Regions from separate parts of the Homo sapiens genome. Here region 2 is linked to region 1. The links are contacts of gene promoters, found by promoter capture Hi-C in blood cells and fetal thymus (Javierre and others, 2016). All regions are on one chromosome and are shown on one strand. Each heading gives the region's core, a stretch centred on a gene start or on the middle of the fragment in contact. The rest is flanking DNA. Distances are from core to core; before and after follow the strand shown. Region 1 holds the start of SLC18A2 (solute carrier family 18 member A2). Region 2 overlaps PDZD8 (PDZ domain containing 8).

Region 1 (4,955 bases), core at 1,168-3,667:
TAGTAGTCCCCACCAGGGTCTGTTGTTGCCATCTTTATGTCCACGTGTAGAAAATTTTAAAAAGCTAATGCATATTCACATATTTATTGTGGTTCACATAATAGATAGGTGATGAATACAGAATTTAAACAATAAAAGCATTAGGGTAGGATACAATTCTGTTGGAAAACGGAATGGAAACATACTTAAAAGGGGTAAAGAACACAATGTAAATATTTTGACTGTTAAAGGGATACTTGTTTATATTCTTAAGTATAACATGGCAGTTTTGTATTCTTATACAAATTCCTTTGGGTATATTTAAAAGAGAGAGATAATAATTTTATACATAAAGGTCAATAAATACAATATACCCTATTTAAATATATGATTAAAAAACTCATTTTAGATGCCAACTTGAAAATGTGTAAGGCAAACATATTGTTAAACATTTTTTAGGGGGTTTCAACAAAAAGTCTGTTATAGGCCATAGTGCTCTAGGGGTGGTGACAGTGATCCGGAGGCGGGAACGCCGGGCTGGCATTGTCCCTGGAGCCATCTACATCCAGCTGGCTGGGCTGGAGTTTGGTGTGGCTTCCAGTGTTCACTGCTATGATGCTGCTATCAGGTCAGAATGTCAGCAGGGATTTGTCTAGGCTTTACTGTCTCCCCAGCATTAACCATAGTGCCTGGCACGTAGTAAGAGCTCAACACATATTCAGCGCATGAATGAGGGGCCGGCACTTACGGAGCTCTCACTTTGTGCCAGGCACTGTGCTAAGAGCTGCCTATGCATTCCCCTGGAATTCTCACAACCACGCTGCAGTAGGTCCAGTGAGTATCCCCATTCCAGAGATGGCGAAACTAAGCCACAAAGAGGATACATAACCAGCCCAAGGCCACCAGTCAAGGAAGTAGCAGACTGGGACCTGGGCATCCTGGCAGGCACCCTTTACCATAATGCCTCTCTGTCCCCATGTGGTCCCTGGGGTAGAGTCTGCATCCTTGGGTTCTGAAACTCCAGAGCAAGCACTCTGGGGCACTCCCTGAGTGATACCCTCCTGCCATCTTAAACGGCTCTCTGCCATCTGCTTCCTCCTCCTAAGTGGTTTTCCTTCTGTCCTCCCTGTTTAATGTTTAAGTTGTGCACATCCTGTGACATCCTGGAGACCCATGTTCCTGACCTACTTACCTATTCAACCATCTCTTCTCACACATGGGGTAGCAATGAGAAGCACAGGGGGTCTCTGCAAGGGAGTAGGGAGGTGGAGAGAGCGGGGGCAGCCACACATCACACTGCTGTTCTCAGTGGCCTCCTGCTGTCAACAAGCTAACATTAATAAAACAAGCCCACTCTTCTGCTAAGAGACTGTGACAGGGTAACATTTATTCTAGGTAGCTTTTCAAGAAAACAGCTCTTGCTCCCACGGTCCCCTCGGAGGGCCTGCAGAGCTCCAGCGATGTCAGAGGGCATCTGTTTGTTTCTCCTTTGCTTATAAAAGGGACCTGGAAATCAAAGGCAGGCTCTTAGCCCTTAGCAGTGAGGATGACAGCTCTGCACCAGCCACACGCAGGCCCCTGGCTCTAGGAACCACCTCTCACCCAGACGCCCAGGCACAGCATGGTGGGGAGAGAGTACAGGACACAGGGCCTAGGCCTGCTGCCCCGCCCACAGCCCGCCCCCTAGCCCTTTCTCTGAGGCCAGGTGTACTCACCTAGCCTCCAGGGTCCCCTGCTCAGGTGGCCCCAGAGGCCCAAACCCACTGCTCCCACTTTCTGAGACCTGGGACCCTCACCTCCCCAACTCCCACCATAGGGCGACACTGAAAAGTGTCCCCTTCCCCCCCCCGTTTCCAAGTCACCAGCTTGAGGATGCCCAAGGCTCAAAGGCTCCTCCGAGTGGCACCCCGCATCGGGCTGCAGAGGTCGGAGAGGGGAGGGGATGGTGGGTGCAAAGGGTGGCTTCTTCAGGAAAGGGAAGCCTGTCCCTGGCTCCCAGCACCTGTCACCCCTGGCGATCTCACCCCGCGGCCATCATTCCCGTCCTCACGGCCCATTTCAGGGACACTGAGGCTCAAAGAGCCACGTGATTTATTCAAAGCAGCTCGAGCCACCACTTGGAGCCACAAGAAAGCCCTGGTCCGTGCCTCCTCGCCTTGGTCCCTGGCCCTTCACTCTTCGTCCAGGCTCTCTGACCTCTTTCCCTCTGCGCCCCTGCCTCTTCCCCAGGCCTGGGTCCCCAAGGCACTCGGCCACGCGCTGGGTCCGGGGAAGAGGCGCGGCCGCGGCCGAGGCGGGGACAGGGAGGCGGCAGCCCCTCCTGCGCAGCGACGGCGCGGGCGGGCGGAGGCCGGGGCGCCCCAGCCCCCCGCCCCCGCTCCCTCCGGCCGTGACGTCAGAGCCGGACGGGGTAAACTGAGCGGCGGCGGCGGGGCGCTGGGGCGGAGACTGCGACCCGGAGCCGCCCGGACTGACGGAGCCCACTGCGGTGCGGGCGTTGGCGCGGGCACGGAGGACCCGGGCAGGCATCGCAAGCGACCCCGAGGTAACACGGCCCCGGTTCCCTGCTCGCAGGGCGCGGTGCCGGAGGGGAGCGGGCCCGGGGGAGGCAGGGAGGCAGGGAGGCCCCCAGAGCTACGCGGGCGGGGCTGCGGGGACCCCGGGGCAGCCGGGGCGCAGGGCGCAGGGCGCAAGGTGCACGGGGCCGAGCGTGCAGTTTGGGAGGTGGCACAGTTGGGGGCGGCGGGGATCAGGGCAGCGTCCTGGGGGTTCTAGGTTGGGTCTCCAGATTGGGTCCCCGACGGCGCTCGCGGGCGCTCTTTCCAGGGAGCGCGGGCTCTCGTGGGGACGCGCTCGAGGCAGGTGAGCCGAGGCTGGGGCGCCCGGGGGTGTCCCCGGATGCCGGTGCGCGCGGCTCCCTGACCCGCCCTTCCGCGGCCTGGGGGACGGGAGAATGGGGGGTCCACGGCCGCCTTGGGTCCTCACCGCGCACCGCGCCCGCAGCGGAGCCCCGGAGCCATGGCCCTGAGCGAGCTGGCGCTGGTCCGCTGGCTGCAGGAGAGCCGCCGCTCGCGGAAGCTCATCCTGTTCATCGTGTTCCTGGCGCTGCTGCTGGACAACATGCTGCTCACTGTCGTGGGTACGTGCGGACAGGGCACCCCTGCCCCGGCACCCCAGCCCCAGCGCCCCTTCCCCGGCACTCCACTTACCCCTGCGCGGTCCCGGAGCTCCGCCAAGGCCCGGGAAAGTTGGAGAACTCGCTTTGCAAAAAAGACATCCCCTCCAGGCTGCCGCGCCGGGGCTAGGAGGAGCCGCGTTGTGTGGCTTCGCTTTCCTGATGCTCGGGTCAAAAACTGTGACATCCGATAAGACCCAGAACTTATGTTTCCCCCTGATAATTTCCCGCATCCTCTTGCCTGCTTTCACTGCGATGAAAAAGATTTCTGTTCCAAAAGAGAAATTCCTAAAGTTCAAAATTACGTGTTAGAATAATTATTGGGCTACTCGAAAAGGCAGGTTAGTAATTTGGTGTAGTACCTAAAAGAGCAAGTTTCGATCCCTTACTCCAAAAACAAGACATTTAGATATACTGTATTAGTGAATGACTTGAGATGGAAATATTTCAGGAACCATTGCAAGAACAATTTGAACAATCTTGGTTCTATTATTTTTCCTATAGTGGAATTTTGAAAAATTAAATAATCGAAATCCAGGTCCCTTAATTAGGCCCATTAACAGAGAAGTATTTGGCATGCATTTCCTTAAAAAAAAAAATCCCAGTTTTTAATGAATGAAAAAAAAATCACGACTCATTTAGACTGTAAGTGGTGGGAGCTGTTTCCTTTCTCTCCATTTGCAGGTTTTCTCACAGCAGTTTTCAGAGCATCTGATAGGTTTCATCTCGAGGAGTTATCAGAGCCGTGGAGCTCATCCCTGTTCAGTACCAACGGCATTAGTTCTGCTTCGGCTCGAATGCTCCATTGGACACATGTGCTCACAGCTTCGATTATATGTTTCACAATTTAATTTGTATTTTTTGTTGTTGCTTTTTATTTTGGTTTTTGTTTGTTTTTTTGAAATGGAGTCTCACTCTGTTGCCCAGGCTGGAGGGCAGTGGCACAGTCTTGGCTCACTGCAACCTCCACCTCCCGGGTTCAAGTGATTCTCCTGCATTAGCCTCCCGAGTAGCTGGGTTACCGGCATGCCCCACCAAAGCTGGCTAATTTTTGTATTTTTATTAGAGACAGGATTTTGCCATGTTGGCCAGGCTGGTCTTGAACTCCTGACCTCAGGTGATCTACCCGCCTCGACCTCCCAAAATGCTGGGATTACAGGCCTGAGCCACCGTGCCTGGCCTGTTTCAGTTTTGCTTTTTCCTTGTGAAAGCCTTAGGAATTCTTAAATCTTACAAGTTGTAGGAAAAATTACAGATTCCCACTCATAATAGAAGGATGAAGTGGGCCTGTTGCAGAATTTCCAAGTTATTACTTCCTGCAGGTTAATTTTTTTCTAAGACACATAATGAAGTGTAGTTTTCTGTTTCCTTGATTCATTCATTTGAAAGTCTTTTGAGCCTCTCTTTCTTAGAAGCACTGGTTGACTCCAGGTCAGCACTCTCTTAACGTCAGGCCACATTTTGCTTTTCTGAAATATTCCTTGAAGGAACAATGTGGAAGAAACCCACAAATGACAGAATCTCTGGGACCAGTCAGTTCAGCACAGCAGCTGCCTTTTGAGAGGAGACAGTTCTCAGGGCCGTTGGGGGCATGGTTCTTTCTAGTGAGCTAAGTAAAGTGAACTTGCTCCAATGTCGTTATAGACATATGGCACAGGGCTCCTGTTTTGGGGTAGACCTGTCACCCTCTGGACCTCTTCTGGCATTTGACACAACCATAGTTTTGTTGTTGTTATTGTTGTTTTGTTTGTTTGAGACAGAGTCTCACTCTGTCACCCAGGCTGGAGTGCAGTGGTGCAAT
Region 2 (5,167 bases), core at 1,090-3,589, 110 kb after region 1:
TTTTTTTTTTTTTTTTGAGACGGAGTCTTGCTCTGTCCCAGGCTGGAGTGCAATGGCATGATCTTAGCTCACTGCAACTTCTGCCTCCCGGATTCAAGCTATTCTCCTGCCTCAGCCTCCCAAGTAGCTGGGATTACAGGGTGCCCACTACCACGTTCGGTTAATTTTTGTATTTTTAGTAGAGACGAGGTTTCACTGTGTAGGCCAGGCTGGTCTCGAACTCCTGACCTCATGATCCACCTGCTTCGGCCTCCCAAAGTGCTAGGATTACAGGTGGGAGCCACCACGCTTGGCCCCAGAATCTGTGCTCTTCATCAATGCCTCTTAAAAGTTGTTAAAAATAGAAATACATAGGCCGGGCGCGGTGGCTCACGCCTGTAATCCCAGCACTTTGGGAGGCCGAGGCAGGCGGATCACAAAGTCAGGAGATCGAGACCATCCTGGCTAACATGGTGAAACCCCGTCTCTACTAAAAATACAAAAAAATTAGCTGGGTGTGGTGGCAGGTGCCTGGAGTCCCTGCTACTCAGGAGGCTGAGGCAGGAGAATGGCATGAACCTGGGAGGCAGAGCTTGCAGTAAGCAGAGATTGCACCACTGCACTCCAGCCTGGGTGACAAAGTGAAAAAAAAAAAAAAAGAAATATATAGTTACAAATGATTGCTTCTGAACAGTCTAGCTTAGGGCAGGAAAGTAAAGGGTTTAGGGAGGCAATTGCTGATTTTCATCATAAGTTCTTCTGTTTTGATTTTTAAGTTACATGCATTAAGTAAAATGAAAGAACAAACAATGCCAAATGTTGGAGAGGATGTGAAACTGCTGGTTTCGACTATTAAAACTACTTTGAAAATTGTAGTAATATCTACGAAGCCAGTAGAGATCCACCCTATGACTCTGCAATCCTACTCCTCGATATACCCAAGAGAAATGTGCACAAATGTTCACCAAAAGGCATATATAAGAATATTCATAACAACACTACCCATCAACAAAAATGGACAGACTGAAGTACATTCACACAGTGGAATACTCCACAGCAAATATAATGAACAAACTACATCTATATGCAACAACATGGATTAATCTCACAAACTACTCTTGAGCTAAAGACAACAAAAATGAGTACATACAGTATGATTCAATTTATACAAAGTTCAAAATCAGGCAAAAAACAAACACAAAAAAATCTAAAAATAGTGTTAGAAGTCAGGATAGTAGTTACTTTAAGGCAGAGGAGAGGAAGGTAGTGACTAGGTAGCATATGAGGAGCTTCTTGGTTGCTGGTAACACTCTGTTGCTTGTTTTGAATGCTGATTTCATGAGTTTGTTCACTTTGTAGACATTCATGGAGCTGAATTTTCTGATTAGTACACTTTTCAGGTGGTGAGTTATATTTTAATAAAAATTTAAAGAAAAAACATGTTTTTTTCTTTTTTTGAAGACAGGGTCTTACTCTGTTGCCCAGGCTGGAATGCAGTGGTGTGATCATGGCTCACTACAGCCTTGACCTCCTGGACTCAAGCAATCCTTCTGCCTCAGCATCCCAAGTAGCTGGCACTACAGATGCAGGCTACCACACCCAGTTATTTTTTGTAGAGGTGAGGTCTTGCTATATTGCTCAGGCTGGTCTTGAATTCCTGGGTCCAAGCAATCCTCCTGCTTCGGCCTCCCAAAGTGTTGGGATTCTAGGAGTGAGCCACTATACTTGGCGTGTTTAATTTTTAAATGTGCATTATTTTACTAACACTTAAAATACATATTTAAATTTATACTTACAAGAGAAGCCAAGCCTTCTTCTCCTGTGTAGATCTGACAGAACCTTTTGTAACATCTAAAATATGTCTTACTTTAAGATGTCTCTTCAAGTTTGCCCTATAAGCATGCTGAATACCAGCTGGTGACATCTCCATCACATGGCAGCAGTAAAACTGTTTGCAAACACTGGGATCTTTAGAGAGAAAGGTTTTACTACAACCCAATGTAAAAATATGCAGAGGTCTAGATCTACTGTTAACTGCAGTTGAGCGTTCATGTTCTTGCTCAAGTGATAAATCTGCTAGAGTTTTCAGATCAATACGAGAAAACTTTGTGACAATTAGAGCTAGTGAAAAAAGGACATGGCTTTCTCAGTATGTAGTAGCAAGCCTCTATCTCTAGAAATATTTAGGCAAAGGTTAGATGAGGATTTGTCAAGGAGACAAAAAAGAACACAAAAAAGAAGACAAAGGAACACAAAACTTAGAATCATATATACATATAGATTGTTGTCCCAACTTCATCACTGATAAAGCAGGTGATATTGGAAAAGCCTTTTATCTCCTTAAACTTCAATTTCTTGTTCAAAAAGGGAGGAGGGGAATAATCCATGCTTTTTGTTACCTATGAGAGGGTGAAGTAAAACTAATTCATATGCCAGCATCTCTTAAACTACAAGGTATTGTAACCACCTGAGGGGTTCTTCCTGCCCACAGCATAAAGACAGACCATGGTGGCATTGTCATAGAGGAAGAGTTTAATAGACACAAGGCTGGCCACACCACAGGGGAGATAAAATTTGTACTCAAATCACTTCATTCAAAGCTCGTAGGGGAAGGGTTTTTCAAAGGCAGTTTGGGGAAAGGAGTGGGGTGGCCAGCTAACAGGGGCTTGCTGCTGATTGGTTGGGGCAGAGATGAACTCATAGGGGGCTGAAGCTGTCCTCCTGTGCGCCAAATTGCTTCTGGGTGGAGCCACAGGAGTGGGGTTGTAATAAGTCCTAATACAATGCCACTTTTACTAAAACACATTTCCTAATCTGCATTATAAAGCTGTATAATTTCTATAAAGTCACAGTATCTCACTTTTAATGGTTTACAGAAAGTAAATTCTAGTGTCAATCATGGGCTCTCTATTAAATTTACTTTAGATATCTAAAACAGTACCTCTTGTCTTCCAAACTATTTTGTCTAGGTTATGATGCTGAGTAAAATATAAAGAACTCAATAAAATTGTTCAGCAATTCTATTAATACTGACTTGGAGTCCTAGAGGGAGTGGAAATCAATAATAATGGTAATGACCTTCCCAGTGCAGTTTGATGGCTCTCAAACTTTCTCGAATTATTCCAGTCCTCCAAGAAAGACCCATATTAGTCACAATATTTCAGAAGGAAGGGGTAAACAAGTCCACGTGATTAAAAGATCAACGAATCTCTCTCTGTTCTAATAAAAATCCATGCTAGTTTATTATAAGGAACACTATGAAAGTCATTTCTGAGAATCTACACCTTGATGTTTTCTAATTTGGGGATATAAAAAAATGATCCTAAGCTAGATGCTAAAGAATTATTACTTTTTAAAGGTTTGATAGTGGGATTATACTTTTTTAAAAAAAGACATATTGATGTTATACATAAATTTTGTTCAAAATAATCGGGGGAGGGGTGTGTGGCAAGATGAACAAGAGTGGCCCTAAGTTAATTACTGGCTACAGACAAAGCAAGATGAGGGAGGGGGGTGAGGGGGCGGGGAGTGGCATTTACTGAACTATTTTCTTGACTTTTAAGTGAAGTATTCCAAAATGGAGAATTAGAAAAATTGTTCTGTATACTAAAACAATGTGGTTTCTGTCTTCCTGTTTCCTTTCTCTAACTTCCCTGAGCAACATCACTTGCTGTCACTGCTTTTATCACAGTTCATACATTGGTACCTAAAAATGAGTTAAACACCCTTTCTTCAAACTTGCGCCCTTCTCTCCTGCTTTCTCTTACTGGCACCACCAATTTCAAAGACACCTGGAAACCTGGAGGTAACCTTTTATTCCTCCTCTTCTCACAACCAATTAGTTCTATCCCCATTCCCTCCATTCATTTACTGTTAAAATGTCTCTTCTGTTGTTCTGTGTTCCTCATTGGCCTGATTTAGGTTTTCATTGATTGCGGAGAATGTTGGGATTTCTGAAATTGTTTCCTTTTCTTAAAAAGAGTACTTTCTTAAACCAAAAACAAAGCCTCTACCTTTTGTTGTTGTAAATAAAAAGCTACCTCACAGGACTATTACTAAGATTTAGAGTTCACACATGTGATACACCTAATCAAGTTCGTGGCTTGTTATAAGCACACAAATTCTGGTTTTCTTCTCTTCTTTATGCCAAAGTATTACTATTTCAAACTAGCTGTCTCACTGAATCTCTGAAGATCCTACAAGGCCCTCATTCTGTTCCTTTGTGATTTCTCCTACCCACAATATGCTCCTACCCCATCTCCCTATGTCTAAAGCTAAACTATTCTGTAAGTTACCTCAAATACCATCTCACCTGTTTAACAAATAGGCTTATTTGAGAATAGAGAGACCAGTCAAAGTTAGATACTCAGATACTGCAGTCATATTTCAGGCTCAGGAATACACACAACACTATATCCTTTCTAAGGGAGAGAGTAGAACGAGCAGCTATAAACAGGCAATTGAAAGTCCTATATGGTTTATGCTTTCAGTCGGAAAGTTTTGGCTCTATCACATTAGGAACTAGCAAACATAAATGTTCTCTTCAAATTCTCCTACACCAAATATATAAACTAGATAACTCAGTGAGTGATCATTTTAAAAATGTTTCTTCATTTATTATGCTTCAGAGCCAGTACTCCTTCAAATAATGAGTTCCCCCTGCTGCATTAAAAGTGTAATTTTCAAAACCTCTATTAGTTGTAACTTTTATGGCATACATTATCATGCAAACTATGGCACGCTAATACAAAACTAAGTGTAAGCCAGAAAGAAAACAAAGTACAATGGTTCCAAATACTCCTCATTTTCTGTGTTGGTAAATTATGAATCTAAATTTCAAATTTTCAATTTTACTTAGATACTTCAATTGATATATTAAAAGGACAATTCATACACAAGGCTCCTCTATATTCACCAAGGTTAGTACTGCTGTATTATTTCTCCTGAGAAACTGTACCTGCTAAACACTCTGATGCCATACGTAGCCTAGTCCTATGTGGTAAGCTTTTCACTGCTGAAGTTCTACTTCAGTCGCCTCCTGTCTGTAACCCGTCCCTCTCCTCTACCATCTGGTAATTGTTTCCTCTCCTGTGTTCTAAAAACACTTTATATATGCTCTGTTTTACTACTAGCCATACTATTTATGTATCTGTCTCCATCTTTCTAGCTTTCCTGCAAGATCCCCTCC

Evidence for each region. Contacts are between HindIII fragments. The CHiCAGO score rates a contact against its expected background, and 5 or more counts as called.
Region 2: a contact is called between a fragment that was not itself captured here and the fragment with the promoter of SLC18A2 in region 1, in 1 of 17 cell types (neutrophils). The highest score is 10.2, in neutrophils.

What each region holds. Positions count from the first base shown.
Region 1 is chr10:117,238,697-117,243,651 of GRCh38, forward strand. SLC18A2 (solute carrier family 18 member A2) reads left to right here and starts at 2,418. Exons shown (of 16, transcript NM_003054.6): 1 at 2,418-2,524; 2 at 2,983-3,118. The coding sequence starts at 2,998. It overlaps SLC18A2-AS1 (SLC18A2 antisense RNA 1), which reads right to left and starts at 3,301. Exons shown (of 3, transcript NR_184310.1): 1 at 3,189-3,301; 2 at 2,965-3,087; 3 at 69-1,485. The HindIII fragment of the contact is 8,499 bases long and covers 1-4,955 here.
Region 2 is chr10:117,350,269-117,355,435 of GRCh38, forward strand. All of the region lies in intron 1 of PDZD8 (PDZ domain containing 8), which reads right to left. Among named protein-coding and RNA genes, the nearest start is that of PDZD8, 23 kb to the right of the region's middle. The HindIII fragment of the contact is 5,284 bases long and covers 1-4,981 here.